4 separate regions of the Homo sapiens genome follow, and all the other regions are linked to region 1. Evidence: promoter capture Hi-C in 16 types of primary human blood cells and fetal thymus (Javierre and others, 2016). All regions are on one chromosome and are shown on one strand. Each heading gives the region's core, a stretch centred on a gene start or on the middle of the fragment in contact. The rest is flanking DNA. Distances are from core to core; before and after follow the strand shown. Region 1 holds the start of HINFP (histone H4 transcription factor). Region 2 holds the start of RNF26 (ring finger protein 26). Region 3 holds the start of MCAM (melanoma cell adhesion molecule). Region 4 overlaps CBL (Cbl proto-oncogene).

Region 1 (3,754 bases), core at 904-3,403:
CAAAAAAAAAAAAAAAAAAAAAAAAACAGCCGATGTGGTAGCATGCACCTGCAGTCCCGCTACTTGGGAGGTTCAGGTGGGAGGAAGGCTTGAGCCCAGGAGGCAGAGGTTGCAAAGAGCCAAGATCACACCATTGTACTCCATCCTGGGCGGCAGACCCAGACCCTGTCAAAAAAAAAAAAAAGAAGAAAGAAATATTGAATATTGACTGCTTTTATAATGTTGTGGTAAGAAAAGTAGAAAAAAGCTTCAAAAGTCATAAAATCCCACACCTCCTCTGACTATTACAGTATGAAATGCAAGGCTCTTCTCAAAGTGGTCTCAATTTTACTTCTCCAGTTCTAGGTAGGGAAACGAACATCTATTGAGAAGCTACAGTGTGTCAGCCCTGTGGTGAGTCCTCTCTACACTTCATCTGATGTAAGAGCACCCTCATTCCAATCCAAAGATCATGCTCTTTCTCCCACATGATGCTGTTCTCTGGCTTCCTCACCCATACTTCATTCCCTCTTCCTCTGATTCAATCATCTTTGTCTCTGAATACTCTACATTCTCCTAAAACTCTCTGCCTACGCAAGTTCTTTTTTTTTTTTTTTTTTTTTTTGGAGATGGAGTCTTGCTCTGTCGCCCAGGCTGGAGTGCAGTGCTGTGATCTGGGCTCACTGCAACCTCCGCCTCCCAGGTTCAAGCGATTCTCGTGACTTAGCCTCCGAAGTATTATAGCTGGGACTATAAGCACGCACCACCACGCCCAGCTAATTTTTGTAGTATTAGTAGAGACGAGGTCTTGCCATGTTGGTCAGGCTGGTCCCAAACTCCTGACCTCAAGTGATCCGCCCGCCTCGGCCTCACAAAGTGCTGGGATTACAGGTGTGAGCCACCGCGACAGGCCTACCTATGCAACTTCTATTCGCCTTTCAAACCCCAAAGTCTTCTCTTTGATGACCCCCTTCCCAATTCATCCAGGTACAGCTGGCATATCCCATCTCTTGCCCACGGCATCCACACACATCTTTGCTATCAATGCAATGAAACTTGTTTCCCCTAGACTAGGAGTTTCTCAGGACAGTGGCCATCACTTATTCACTTCTCATTCTCAGATTCAGCACAGAGCTTTGCACACCCCAGGTACTCAATAAATATCAGGAGATAATCACATTCCGGGAAGCCTTCCTAAACTACCCCATCCCTGAATCTACTCTTGCTCCTTAGTTCTATGGCTGGCACAGCTGACACCATAAAACTTCAACCCTATTTTCATGTTGCCATGGTCGTTTTATGTGTTCTAGTCTCGTTTACCCAATTGGACTATAAGAAGCTTCTGAGCAGAAACCATATCACACCTGCCCGTGTCCCTACACTGTGCCGAGCACAAATATTCTAAACATACACCTGCTGTTAGACTGGTGGGTAAGTCCAAGGAGGCAAGCTAGCTGGCGATACAGAATGATCTGAAACCTAGGCAAAACTCCCTGACGCTCTCTGACTGTCCTCCTGTCTTCTTTAATTTCTCTTTCTGTGTCTCTTGTTTCTACTCTGAGGAGATAGGGGCATGATCTTCACTCTACCCTCTTAACACTTAAGAGGGCATATACTGTAACGCAAGACAATGAATGAACTGTGGTATTCAAGAAAAAAAGGGTCCTAAACGCCTAAGAACTCATAATTTGGCCAAAAAGATAAGACTGATACGTGAAGACAACGACCGAAACAAAGTACCCGATGAGGGAGACCAGGACAGAGAGACACCTCCGCGGTCAGGCGAAAAGGAAGTCTCCCCTAAGCAGTGGGGCCCGCACCACGCCTCGAAGGACAGGTAGAATTTGGACAGAAGGAAGGAGACCGTCCCGTTGGGCAAAACCTCTCCACTCGCAGTCCCGCAGGCTTCCCGGAATCCTTCACGCTAAGGCGTGGCGGCGACCGAGTCTCAGCCGCAGCGAAGCCCCTAGACTAGAAAGCAGGGAGGTTCCAGTCGGGGTGAGGGGACCGGACCAGGGCAGACCAGCGTGGCCAAGCGGCAAGAATACTCGCCGAGGTGGCTCGGGAAGAGCTTGGCCTCCTGCAGCCCCTGCAGAGCACATACCCCAGCTTACCGTCTGTCGGCTCCAGGTCTCTTCAGCTCTTCTCCCACCTCAGACCATCTCCGGAGAGGCGCTTGAGGGACGGTCAAGGAAAGCCAATCGTCGTTCTCGGATCCGACTGACAGCCAATGGTAGCTGTGTCTGGCGGAACCCGTGCGCACCAAAACACGGAAGGGGCGGGAACAGTGGGTGGGGCTAGGCGTCCCGGGCGGACAGAGGGGCGACAGGATACGTGCAAAAGGTAGCACGTGACCGCGCCTCGCTGCTCAGGGCAACGCAAAGGCGGGGAGCCTATGGGCCTGAGTTCCCCTAACTGCGCAGGCTCGGCCTCCGGGACCCAACGGGCATGCGCAGGGCTCGCGCCTGGTGCGCAGTGGGGTCTCCCTCACGTGGTTCTTCGCTTTAGTTGGCTGGTTGCGTGGGCCTCGCGGAGAAAAAGGCGTGGGATGCTGCCCAGCGCTGTCGGCCCCGCTCGGCTCAGATTGAAGGTTCTACCCTTTCCTTCAGCCTCTTAGTCTTATTATGTTTTAAATGTTGGTATTATATGTTTCTCTTTCCCCCCAAAACTCGGCTTCCCTTCATCCACTCGTTCAGGTCAGAAAGCTGGCAGTCATCACTGATTCCTCTCACTTCTCACATCCAATCCATTGCCAAGTTCTGTGGATTCTACCTCCTTTTAAAACAGGATATTTCAAATTTATCCCCTTTTGTTTATCTTCACCGCCTCCCCCACCTCCCCTGTCCAGTGATGACCTCCAGGCAGGATTTATACATTAGTCTAATGGGTCCCGCTGCGTGCACACTTGCTTCCTTCCAAAGCATTCTCCACTTTGCAAAAAGCAGACCTGATCAAGTTACCATCTGCTTCAGACAATTCAAAGGCATTCTATTGCTTTCAGGGCAAAGCTCCAAAACCATACTGAGGTTTTCTAGACCCTTCAGCATCTGGGCTCTCCCTGTCTACTTTTTTTTAGTCCTTCTCGACCATATTTCTTGCTCTCCAGTCGCAAATTTCTTTCACCTTTTCCACCACACCAAGCCACCTTTTACCTCTCAAGCCTTGAACTTGTTTTCTTTACCTGGAATAATCCCTTTCTCCTCCTCCCACATTTATTTGACTGACTCCTACTAATTTTTATGGTCTCAGTGTAGATGCTTCTTTTTCCAAAAAGTCTTCCTGATAGTCCTTTCTTGTATTTAACAATACAGCTCAGTCACATTGTATTTGTCTGTTTACTCTCAGTCTGCATTCTTCACTAGACTAGTTCTTCACCTTTATAACTCCATCAGTGGGCCGGGTGTCGTGGCTCACGCCTGTGATCCCAGCACTTTGGGAGGCCGAGGCGAGTGGATCACATGAGGTCAGGAGCTCAAGACCAGCCTGGCCAACATGGGGAAACCCCGTCTCTACTAAAAATACAAAAACTAGCTGGGCATCGTGGCGGGCGCCTATAATCTCAGCTACTCGGGAGGCTGAGGCAGGAGAATCGCTTGAACCCAGGAGGCACAGGTTGCAGTGAGCTGAGATGGCACCACTGCACACCAGCCTGGGCAACAGAGCAAGACTCTGTCTCAAAACAAAACAAAAAACAAAATAAAACAAAAAACCCATCACTCACTTAGCCCAGTGGCTGAAACTCAGTAAGGGTTCAAGACATACTTGTTAAATAATA
Region 2 (3,754 bases), core at 708-3,207, 210 kb before region 1:
TGTCCTAGCGTGAGTGCCTGCGTGGAGCATGGAGGGGTGGGCAGGCAGGGAAGGAGGCTTCAGAGGTAGACATTGAGGGTCTGCAGGATGCCCCGGCGGCAGAGCGGGCAATTGCGGTGGTAGACGGGGTGGCGCATCAGGATTTCAGTGCAGGCCTGGCACAGGCACAGATGCCGGCAGGGCAGGAGCAACACTGTCTTGCTCTGGTCCTGGCAGATGACACACTTCTTCCGCTCCTCTTGCTCCTTCAGCAATTTCCAAGGGTCTTGCCCACCTGGAGGCTCCTCCTCATTGAGCCTCTCTCGGCCCCTGACAGGTGTCACTCTGATGGTCCTGGCCTCCTCCTCTTCTGCCTCTGATCTGCGCCCCGCTTCAGGAAGAGTGTCCTGTCTCCGGGTCCTAACTGAGAATACCCTCATAGGGTCACCCTGGGGAGCTCCAGGTGCCCCTCCCCGGTTTGGCCAACTCGCCAGCTGCAGACTGCGGCTCCAGACTCGGCGCCAGGCCTCTGAGCCCAGTGCTAGGCGAGAGAGCCGCATGACATCCTCTCGAAGACGGTGGTAGGATGGCCGGGCATGGAGCTGGCTGAGTGCCTGGGTAGCCAGCCTCAGGGTGAAGTCCGGATGCAACACAGTCACCGTCACTGCCAGCACACAAGCTAGCAACACCAAGCCAGTGAGATTGACAAGCACAAAGCTGGCCAGGAGGCGGGCAGCTGAGGCCAGCAGCTCCAGGGCTAGTTGGCAGGGTGTCCAAAGGAGGATGGCCATGGCCACAGCACTGCTGGAAATGTGGGCTAGGAAGGCAGCCACTACGTCCGTCATCCTCCACAGAGGCCCGGTCACTGCATCCCACAGGGCCAGCACCAGGGAAAAGAGGTTCTGAGTGCCGATGAGGCAGATGTTGACCAGGCTGTTGATCACATAAGCCACCAGGCTCATGGCAATGGCACAGATGTCACAGGCCTGGCGCAGCAAAGCATGGCCACTGGAGACCACATTGAGGACGCCCCGGTGCAGTATCTCCCTGCTCCGCAGTGCCCCATGAGAGGCCAGGTGCCCCAGGAGCTTTAGGCTCTCTAGGCCAGAGCAGCAGCTATACAGCAGAGTACACAAGGCCTGCAAGCCCCCACATGTGAACCGGACCACGGCTTCGATCAAGGCCAGCAATGAAAGCAAGACTCCGCGGCCCAAGTGCAGAAGACTAGTCAGTACCGTGTGCGGCAGGTTGTAGACGAAGGCCAGGAGCCAGGCCAGGGAAGCCAGGAGGGAGGACACCAGCAGGAAGTTGAGGTCCAACACCAAGGTCAGCACGTCCAGCACCAGGCCCAACCCATTCACTACCAGGTACACTGCCTCCATGATAGGGCTATGGAAGTTAGTCCAAAACAAAGTCTGGCTCCTCGGTTGGGGGGTTGTCAAGGTTGTCAATATTTTAGGGGGTCTGGGATTAATTTGGAAGGAAAATGAGCAGTCTCCAACCCAGGGGGTACCAAGAATCTGAGGAAGAAGTGGGTAAGACGGAAGTGGAGTCTTGGTAGAGGGAAAGGTGGCCAGGTGCCAGTCCAAGAGTCCAGGTTTTGAAGATGGGCTGTTTGGGAGGGAAGAGGCCAAACATCTCTAAAGCGAAGGCGAGCCCAGGCCGTAGGAGCGACCTCAGCTTTGGATGCCTGGTGTGGCGAACCACGGCCGGGCAACGGGTCAGACCGGGAGGAGACGAGGAACGGATGGAATGGGATCGGATCGGATCGGGTCGCGTCGGGTCGGGCCGGGGCCGGGTGGGGTCGATGTAAGCTGGGCGCAGGCTCTCAGTCCAGCTACGCAGGTGCCCCTGTCCCCGCCCGGCCCCCGTCTTCCCGCTAGCGGCGCTTTGCACCCAAAAGGGGAGTGGGAGAGGCAGCCAGCTTCAGCAAACCCCAAGCGCAGCCCCTACTCCGCTGGGCGCCGCCATCTTGTGTGCAAAGGGGTGGAGCCAGAGGCGTGACGAGGAGGGAGGGACGACAAACTCCAGCCAATCGGTGAAGGCCAACCACAAAAACGTCGATCACTCATTGGTCCGTTTGAATGGCGCCCGAACGTATTTACTTTCCAAAGGGAAGGAGAGGCGACAGATTAAATCCCCTCCCCCTTTAGGCGGGGATTGGTTCGTTGGCGGGCAGCGTCGAAATACGCTCTCCTAGCCCCACCCTCTAAAAGAGCAGGGTCTTGGACTCCCCTCAATTTGGGAGCTGTTCTTTCTCCCGGCCTCTGAACGCGAGGTTTTTTTTTTGGCTTGGGTCGGAGGTCACTGCCTCTGGGCTGGGCTTTGGAATAGCACCGCCTTCGCAGCCTGCCCAGATCCGTCTCCTCATTCTCTTCTATTTATTCATCTATTCTATCATTTATTGAACTCCTACAGTGCATTGAGGATACAAAAAAATTTTAAGACAGTGCCTGCTGTTCACAAGGGAAAGCAGATTATTACAGGGGATTCCCAAACTGCTATTCCAAACTTTCCTCACCAGGTTTTTCAACATCTCGGAAGATTACTTCATTGTCATTGAGAAAAAGGGGCTACAGATTTAGAAACCGCTCAGCTTCCTACCCTGGGCCTTCCTACCCTAGAGTGCAGTGGCGCGATCTCGGCTCACTGCAACCTCTGCCTCCCGGGTTCAAGCGATTCTCCTGCCTCAGCCTCCCGGGTAGTACAGGTGCCCACCACCTCACCCGGCTAATTTTTGTATTTTTAGTAGAGACGAGGTTTCACCATGTTGGCCAGGCTGGCCTCGAACTCCTGAACCTCGTGATCCACCCGCCTCGGCCTCCCAAAGTGCTGAGATTACAGGCGTGAGCCACCAAGCCCGGCCCTGCCCTTTTCTTTAATACTCAAACAATAGTCAAAATATATTTGAAACCCCATCCCAAATATATTGGGAATCCTGGCGTTTTCTACTAACTCCAAGGATGCTTAGCAGACTCCTAGTGGACTTATCTTTCCCCTGGTCACCTTTGCTGAATTTCCTACTTGAGTTGAATTCTCCATCTCCACTCCTGGGCTCCTGAAAGTGTCCGTCCTCCTTCAGTCTGCCCTGAACACTGCCTCAGAGTCCTTCATTCTCCAAAGCATCACTGATAAGAAGCTGAGGTGTGCAGCAAACCTTTACTGAGGCCTTGGGATCGTGGTAGGGGTACGCTATAGTGCAGAGGAAGGACTGCAGTCGCTGAAACTCCTCTGGCTTCTTCCTACCCTTTCTCTCTCCCTGCTCTCAGGCCCTGGCCAGGTTATGGTTTGTTGTGTTGTGATGTGTTGCTGATGTTTTTATTTTCCTACTCGCATCCTCCCGCCAGTGTCAAATCTTGGAGAATGTGCCCACCTCCCTTTCAAGACAGTTGATCCCATCGCCCGTACCATCTCCTCTTAAGGGATCTTATTTGTCCAGTGAACACTATGTTGTTATTAATCAATCTTCCTCCAGCACTTGACACCACTTCCTCCACCCTTGGCCTCAGAATCATTACCCTTTCCTATATTCTTTCTGTTTCCATCATAGCCTCCTCTCCTGTATACACGATGATTTCTGAATTTGTGTCTTCAGCCTGAACCTGTCCTGCAAACTTCAGGCTCCAGCTGCTTCCTGGACATGAACGGTTCATGGGTATCCCACTGGTGCTTCCTACACAATATGTCCAAAGTCAAACTTGGCAAACGTGCTGTGCCTGCACTGCGTGCAATTAACTGGCCAGTTTTCCACACCAAGAAGCATGTAAAGTCCTTC
Region 3 (3,754 bases), core at 722-3,221, 200 kb before region 1:
GGTCCTGACCCGTCTTTAGTTTGGAATCCCAAAGTGCCCACCTCATGAAACCATCCCAAAGCTATCTGTCCCCTGAGGCTATGACCCACTTCCGAGCAGCCTAGACAGCCCCAGGCTACTGGCTTCCTTAAAGGACAGTCTTCTGTGCTTGTTTGGTGGGGCAATGCGAAGGGACGTCACCCTGGGCTCTAGGCTCTGACCTCATTTCCCTTTCACCGCAGAGACAAATCCTCCACCCCCACCTGGCTTCACTCTCCTCCAGCGGAAGAAGAATTCAGAACTGACTGTCCTTGGTGGTTAGCTGGCTTTGTTTTCAGGCCAGAGAGGCGAATGATTAGTTAATGGTGTTAAGTGAAGGAAGGGGGTTGGGCAGGGAAGCCAGCTCCATGCCCAGCCGGGCCTGCCAGGGCAAACGGCATCCTTCAGCCATTCCCACTCCAGCCCAGCAGACAAAACATTCTCATCTAGTCAGCTCTGGGCCTGGGGCCAGTCCATACATTCACTCTGGAGGGCGAGCCAGCGTCCTCCTCTTGTTCTCCCTGCAGGCTCCAGGCTCCAGGCCCCTGGCCCGGTGGGCCTGGGCTCTGCACAGCCTCTGGCTGGAGACTAATGGCATTGGAGGAGGGGTCGAGAAGGCTCTGAAAGACAAGCCTGGTGTGGTTTTCCAGTCATCTCTGCGTCATCAAAACGCCACCCCGGAGCATGCTCTCAAGTCACCTGGCCATCTCCAGGGTTTGCTGGCTCACCCTCCACCTCCCCCAGCGAGCAAAGGGGTGGCCCCGCTGGGCAACAGACCTCTACCCAAATCCAGGCCCCTATTTGGCACTCCCTGGTGGAGGCGCGCCAGCAGATGTGGACCCCTTTTCTGAGGCCAGGCTGCTGGGGTCAGAGTGAGGCAAGAGCACCTCCCCCTCCCTAGAGCCTTAGTTCAAGAGGCCAGAAGACCCAGGGAGAAGCCGGCGTTTTGGGAGAAGGGGAGCTGCAGAGCTCCCCACCCAAGCAGGTCTGATTTGATTCTTCCCTCAGCTATGGACCCACAATCAATAGGGCTGGGGAAGACATGGGGTGGGGGAAGATCAGCGCTGCCGGGATCCTTTCAATCATCAGGAACAGCAACAGGTTTGCAGGGTCAGGCTGGGGACCCTCGCCCATTAACTCTTTCTTCTCCCTGTTTCTTTCTCTTAGGTGAGGGGAAACTGAGTTCCAGGGTAGGCTCCAGAGTGAAGAGGGAAGAAACATGATTCTCAAGGCCCAGGTCTGGACAAGTGTGAACACCTTGGGCCTGCGAATTCAGCCCCCTCCTTCCTTTCTCTGGTCAAAGGCTAGACTTGCAGGAGCTTGCGTTTGAAGGGACAGCCCAGAAGGCATCGTCTGCACTCCCCATACAGGTACTTCTGGGTCTGTGGGACTGGCGCAGGGTTCTTCTCCCAAAGCTGCCAGCACTGAGGCTGAGGCAGTGTCAGGCCGGCGGCAGCGGCAGTGGTGCAATCGTTCTGGGAAGCGATAGAGGCCGGCCTGAATTCTCTGTGGCAAGGGAGGGGAGCCCAAGTGGGAGGCCCCTTGGGGACACCGAGGACCAGGTCCGCTACTGCTCCTCCCCCAGGAGGTCCCCTAGGGGCTACATTGGCTGGCAGGGGCTGAGCAGCGGTGAGCCTGGCTGGCTTCGACCCGGGGCGACTCCGGGCATCCGGGACAGCTTCTCCTCGCTGCCACCTCGGCCAGTCAGACCCCGAGACACCTGTCACTACCCCCTCAGCCTTCCCAAGCCAGGAGCCTGGGAGTCCGGCTCTGGCCTACCTCCGGCAGCGCTCCTAGGCGCAGCTCCCGGGCTGGCGGCGCCGGGGCCCGCCCCCTAGGGCTGCGGCGCGCGGGGCGGGGGCTGGGGGCTGCGCGGGGCGGGGCGGGCCCGGGCGCTCCGGGCCCCCTCCCCCGCCCCCCTGACGTCAGCCCCCGGCAGCCTCGAGCTGCTCACTTGGCTCTCGCCCTCCGGCCGGGAAGCATGGGGCTTCCCAGGCTGGTCTGCGCCTTCTTGCTCGCCGCCTGCTGCTGCTGTCCTCGCGTCGCGGGTGAGTTCGCTCGCAGGGGGGCCGCGCCCCGGCTAGGGGTCTGCGGTGGAGCGTGCCAGGGAGCAGAGCCAGCGGCGCGGCGGGGTCGGGGCGTTGCGTCTGGGAGGACGAGCCTCCTCCCTGGGTCCCCGATCCCCGGGCGCCTTGCGCGCGAGCAACTCTTCTTTGCAGCCAGTTTGCAGCCGGGATTCTAGAGTATCCCGGGAGCAGCACTCGGAAGGCGGGGAGGAGGCTGCTTCTGGGAACGAGAAGGGGTGGAGCTCAGCCTTTCGGGGTGCTGGGGGGTGGGTGGTCCCTGAGGTGCTCACTCTGGGGGCCCGCAATTGAAGCCGGGCAGGAGGCGCAGCTGGGGCGCATCCTCAAAGCCTGAATTCCGCGCCCGCCTGTTGCTGGAAAAGGCAGCTTCCTTCGCTGGAGGGGGTGCGCCGACCCACCCCTTCCCCCTTCTGCCTGGGCATCACGCCAGGCTGGAGGTGAGCGAGAGCGGGAGGTTCGGCGGCTCCCGCCCGAGCTGGGCGTTGGCAGGGGTTGCGGGGCGGTGTGGGTCGCCTCGCGCCTCCCCGAGTGATGGGATCATAGGGGACAGAGATGAGGGATGGAGGATTCCCATACTGGAAGCGCCCGCTGGCTTATTTTGGGGACCACATTCAGGTGGGAAGTGCGCCCGGGCACCTCGGAGCGTTTCTCCGGATCCGCCTGGTAGCAGGGCGCTCTCGGGTCCACGCTGCCCTTGTATGGCCCGCAGCGGTGTCGCGTGTTTCTCTTGGCTCCCATTCCGCCGTCCCAGCCGCTGTCCGGCTGGGGAAGGGGAGGGCTAGGCAATACCCAGCTCGCTGGCCTCATGCCCAGTGCCAACCATGTCCCTGGGGTATTCCAGGCTACTGCCTCCCAGGCTGACTTTATTTCTGGGGAAAGGGCTAAATCGGGCTCCACAGTTGCAGCCGGTCCAGCTCCACCCTGCCCTGCTCTTCTAGCTCTGGGAGGAGTCAGGGGTCTGAGGCTCTGGGTTGGAGACCCCACCTTCCACCTGCCCTCCTTGTCCGAGAGCCAAGGTAACAACCCAGGCATCCCAGAGCCCAGGCAGATGGTGTCGAGTGACATCACCTCCTCACAGGGCTGGCAGCACGCTGGCACCACTGACGTCACTCCTGCCCACTGCCTGGCCCTTGCCCTGACCCCTGGGGGAGACTCTGACCTCTCCATCCTTACCAGCTACCTAGGGTGGGGTCCGCGGGTGTGTGCGGAGTGTTCATGGAGGTGCTGCTGAGGGAGCATGAGACCGGAACTTCCGCCAGAGTTAGCCCGCTGGGGAGTGAGGGCAGGGATTTTGGAGGGCAGAGGATAGAGCAGTGGTGTCTTCCCCTGGCGGTGGTGACACAAAAGGGCCTGTGTGCCCCAGCCTGGCACATGCTTTGCATTCCCACACTCTGAGCTCACCCGGAGAGGAGGGGGCCTGGAAGGAAAGGGGCCTTCCTCTTGGCCCCGAGCCTAGGTTGCCCCTTTCTGCCCCTCTACCAGCCTCAGCTGGAGCTGTTCGGTGCTCAGTCTCTGCTCAATCTCTGCTTGGCTCCAAGGACCTGGGATCTCCTGGACGGGGAGAGGGCTGGCCCAGGTGGGGCGCGGGTCGGGGTGGGGGTAGAGCGTTCAGAGGACAGGGCCCTCTGCAGACCCTCTGAGTGGCAGGAAAA
Region 4 (3,754 bases), core at 1-2,500, 180 kb before region 1:
GAGGGTCATTTCTGTGTAGATCTAAAGACAAAAGCATGATTTAGATTTTCAGGAAGACAGATTTATCAAAGAGCAGGCTTGCTTCTGACATGGAGAAAGCTTACACACTGCTAAGAAAGTGAGCTAAACACTCTGGACAGAATACTAACTGAACTCGAGGGATCATTTATCAGCATATAAAAGAACTGACTAATAGTTCTCCCAACTGGACCCTCAATTCTCTTTATGAACTTGCAATTACACAAACTGCCAGCCCATACTGTCTTTGACTACAGTAATTTATTCACTGAATGATGTCTAATTACCGTGAAGAACACAGTAATTACAGAGAGTATTTAGGACCTCAGGTGAAGAGGAAAAGGGAAGGAAAGGAGGAAAGAGATGTTACATTCCCAAAGCCACAGGCACAAGAAAAGAACCACATCATCGGGAGGCAGCAATGCAGGGAAGGTGCCATCAGCAAGAGGCTGGGCCACCGTGGACATTATCCCCACTCCTTAAAGGGCAAAGGAAAAAACCACTGCTGAAAATATAACCTAATATTCCTCATGTTCAAATGAAGACACCCATATAAGCTGAAATTAATTCACTGGGAAGAAAAACTGAACAGATAAATCCTTACTGTCTATTTTGTGCATTTAAATAGCATGTGAACGAAGCTTCCTAAAAGCTTTCCGGTATTCTGGCCAGAAAGTCATCCTGGAAACAAATGTTCTTCCCTTCCCATTAAGTAGAAAGACTCATGACCTACATCAGAACACATACCTGGCACCAAGGCAACTGACTCCCACAGACTATTTTCTGGGGAGGGCATGGAATGTATTTAAAGGCCTCTATCTCAAATCGGTCATTATGTAATTAGGATAATCAAAACATCTTAATAGCTTCAATGTTCCTATAGAAACAGTGCTTTGGAGTGACCAGTGTTAGCTGCTAGTATCAAACATGCCTATAATAGTGTAGCAACAGTACTTTTCCTCCCACTTATCTACCAAACAAACCAATACCATCACACACAATAAAGAACATCCCATAAGCTGCTTGGCCTCAGTAAGGCTGGCCATAGCAAGCCCATGGCCCATGACAGAACACCAAGAAGGATGAGGAAGGAGTTGATGGGGAAAGAACAGACAGAAGGTGTTCTAAAAATAGAAGACTTTAGCTATGCACATGGTAATATAAGCCAAAGGGGAGTGTTGAAGTTGTAATACACACTAGGCTTGGGTATAATACCACAGTAGATGGAAGTCTTTAAAAAAAGATTCCTTCCTAAACCTTTTGTGCTAATTCCCTGCCTGGAATTAACACACACAGCAGGTTAATCTTATAATCACAAGGACACATACAACCACAGGCAGACACACACACACACGGCCACATCCTTAACCCAGGAAGTCTTAAGTCCTCAATTAGGATTTCCAGCAAAATACTTGTTCTATAGCTTTCTGGACTGTTCCCCAGGTAGGTTATCATGTAATATAATCCACACTCTCTCTACGTGGGAACTGAAGGACACCTTCAAATGCACTCAAGACCCATAAAATAATAAAACATACTAGCTGCTCCATTTTCATTTCACCACTTTGAAATCTTGGAACCACTGATGTGATATCCCACAGAGAGGGCAAGACTTCACTGTGAAGTCACCAAAGGAACTCCTGCCCTTCTAGGTGCCACTTGAGTAATAACTCCCAACTCACTGGTCCTCTAAACCTGCAGCAGGGAGATGGTGTGCTAGGTAGCTACATGGGCAGGAGAAGAAATGGAAACAAATTCCCGGAGGATGTTTTTGGCCATCTCGATGTTGTTCTGGGCAATGACCAAAGCTTTCTGGATGTCCTGGTAGGAGTACCCCTGACTCATGAGGTTCTCGATCTCACTGGAGAGCTGAGGTGAGGCGGTGGCAGCAGAGGCGGCAGGACCACTACCTTGCTGACAGCTGCCAGCTTTCCGTTCAGAGTTGATTCTCCGCGGGAATGGTTTTGGAGGCCTCTCGGGAACTTGGGAACCTTCAGTGACATCTAGAAGAAATAGGAAAGAAAATATTTGCAAATCTGGGGAAATCCTCATTTAACAACAGCAATAAAAATGTGCTAATATCAAGATATTACTGACTTCCTGTAAACTGGGTACATGTGCTCTTCAGTCACAAGGCTGGGTTTTACAGGTTCAAGGGTTTTAAGATATAGCCTCCTCATCACAATAAAAACAACCTTCTAAATATACCATGCACCTGTCCTATGAACAATAACCACTGCAATCATAAACATCTGCATCATGCTTTACACTAAGCAACATGTTTGTGCACATGTAATTGTCTGTTTTAATTCTGAGGGGACCAAAGATACTAAACTTCGCCTTCTACAAATAAGGAAAAAGACAGATATAAGTTGCAATGAAGAAGCATTAGCCAAGGCTGAGTGGGGGACATTGCTCGTCTGGGCAAGCGAAGGCTGTATTCTTTTTCACCAGCTGTCTGTCCTGAAGGCTGTCTTCAATTCCAAAGTGACAGCAACTCTGGCTGCTGCCCTACCAGGCAGCCACAGGTGCAAGAAGAGCAGCCTCCAGTAGTCAAGGCCCAACATGGGCTGGCTCCAGGCCCATTCAGTGTGTGTTCCAGAGCTAGCATGCCTTCTTTCCAATGGAACAGAGCCCAGGAAAAAGGAATGTGTGCTCTGAGCCATCAAGCCTAATTACCAGTGTCATAAGGCATACTCAGAGAAACTATAAATCCTACCTACCCCTAACATAAGAAGAGCCAGAGTTTAAGGAATGACCTCTTTTCTAAGTCTGCAAAAATCCTAAAGAGTCTGACTACAGTCTAACTTCCTAACTTGGGACTTTCCTCCCATTTAGACATAATGTTTAGCCTACATACTGACTTACTGTCACCAGAGAAGGTCATCTCCCTTTCAATATAAACATACAGGCCACACTGCCATTCAGGACAAACCCAAAGTAGTCTGGAGACTCACTTGTTGTAGGATCACCATCCAGAGACAACCAGCCAAAGGAGGAGCTGGCATTAGAGATATCTGAGAGAGTTCGGCGGGCCAGCACGGCCGGCACAGGTGGCTTTGGGACATCATACCCATCATCCTCATTTTCTGACTCCTCGGGACCAGTGTTGGCATGGGCTGCGGCCAAATTCCCTTCACCTGGAGAAAAATGAGTGATGTTATCTTCTTCTGACGCACTTCATCTTCTAATACATTTCAATACGGGGCAGCCATTCATTTTTACATGTATGCAATCATTTATCTCATTCAACAGTTACTGATTGTCTACTGTGGGCCAAACACCATGTAAACAGAGATAAAAATAGAAAATAAAATCTGCACCAACACTGCAGCTTTCATTTTTGAACATGCCAAAGGTTATTCTTGACAAGGTTAATAGCCACCGATGCCAATGACTCCAGTGTCATCTCAGATCATTCAATAAACATTTCTATCCACATTCCACCTTGGAAGATCAGCAAAGGATCCTGTGAGAGCAGGCTTCTTGAACTTTCAATCTGGTAGGCTAGTTAACATGGGAATTGAGTGTTCACCACCCCCACATAAAAGAATTTCATCAATGCAATGAGAAAAAAAAGGAGCTTACAGGTCCAGAGTATAGAACACAAATGTCTCTAGGCCCTGGAAGGACAAAGAAAAGCACAAAAGGAACCAGCAGTGTGAGTAGGAAATAAAGGATTGGGGATACTTTACTGCCCATGTCAAAGATATTTTGCCAAAGATTACTGAAAATA

Evidence for each region. The method cuts DNA at HindIII sites, captures the fragments that hold promoters and counts their contacts. A CHiCAGO score of 5 or more calls a contact.
Region 2: the fragment with the promoter of RNF26 here is called in contact with the fragment with the promoter of HINFP in region 1 in 7 of 17 cell types (naive CD4 T cells, fetal thymus, endothelial precursors and 4 more); the score reaches 8.3 in naive CD4 T cells.
Region 3: the fragment with the promoter of MCAM here is called in contact with the fragment with the promoter of HINFP in region 1 in 13 of 17 cell types (naive CD4 T cells, fetal thymus, endothelial precursors and 10 more); the score reaches 12.4 in naive CD4 T cells.
Region 4: a fragment that was not itself captured here is called in contact with the fragment with the promoter of HINFP in region 1 in 9 of 17 cell types (endothelial precursors, fetal thymus, naive CD4 T cells and 6 more); the score reaches 7.4 in endothelial precursors.

What each region holds. Positions count from the first base shown.
Region 1 is chr11:119,119,979-119,123,732 of GRCh38, reverse strand. HINFP (histone H4 transcription factor) reads right to left here and starts at 2,153. Exons shown (of 10, transcript NM_198971.3): 1 at 2,094-2,153. RefSeq lists a silencer at 2,140-2,419. The HindIII fragment of the contact is 5,005 bases long and covers 1,321-3,754 here.
Region 2 is chr11:119,332,730-119,336,483 of GRCh38, reverse strand. RNF26 (ring finger protein 26) reads right to left here and starts at 1,957. Exons shown (of 1, transcript NM_032015.5): 1 at 1-1,957. The coding sequence starts at 1,361. The coding sequence ends at 60. RefSeq lists an enhancer at 1,424-2,315. The HindIII fragment of the contact is 9,565 bases long and covers 1-3,754 here.
Region 3 is chr11:119,315,347-119,319,100 of GRCh38, reverse strand. It overlaps MCAM (melanoma cell adhesion molecule), which reads left to right and starts at 1,971. Exons shown (of 16, transcript NM_006500.3): 1 at 1,971-2,066. The coding sequence starts at 2,000. RefSeq lists enhancers at 342-391, 3,285-3,754 and a silencer at 1,633-1,692. The HindIII fragment of the contact is 17,882 bases long and covers 1-3,754 here.
Region 4 is chr11:119,297,762-119,301,515 of GRCh38, reverse strand. It overlaps CBL (Cbl proto-oncogene), which reads right to left. Exons shown (of 16, transcript NM_005188.4): 15 at 2,976-3,158; 16 at 1-2,021. The coding sequence ends at 1,735. Among named protein-coding and RNA genes, the nearest start is that of MIR6756, 13 kb to the left of the region's middle. The HindIII fragment of the contact is 1,156 bases long and covers 673-1,828 here.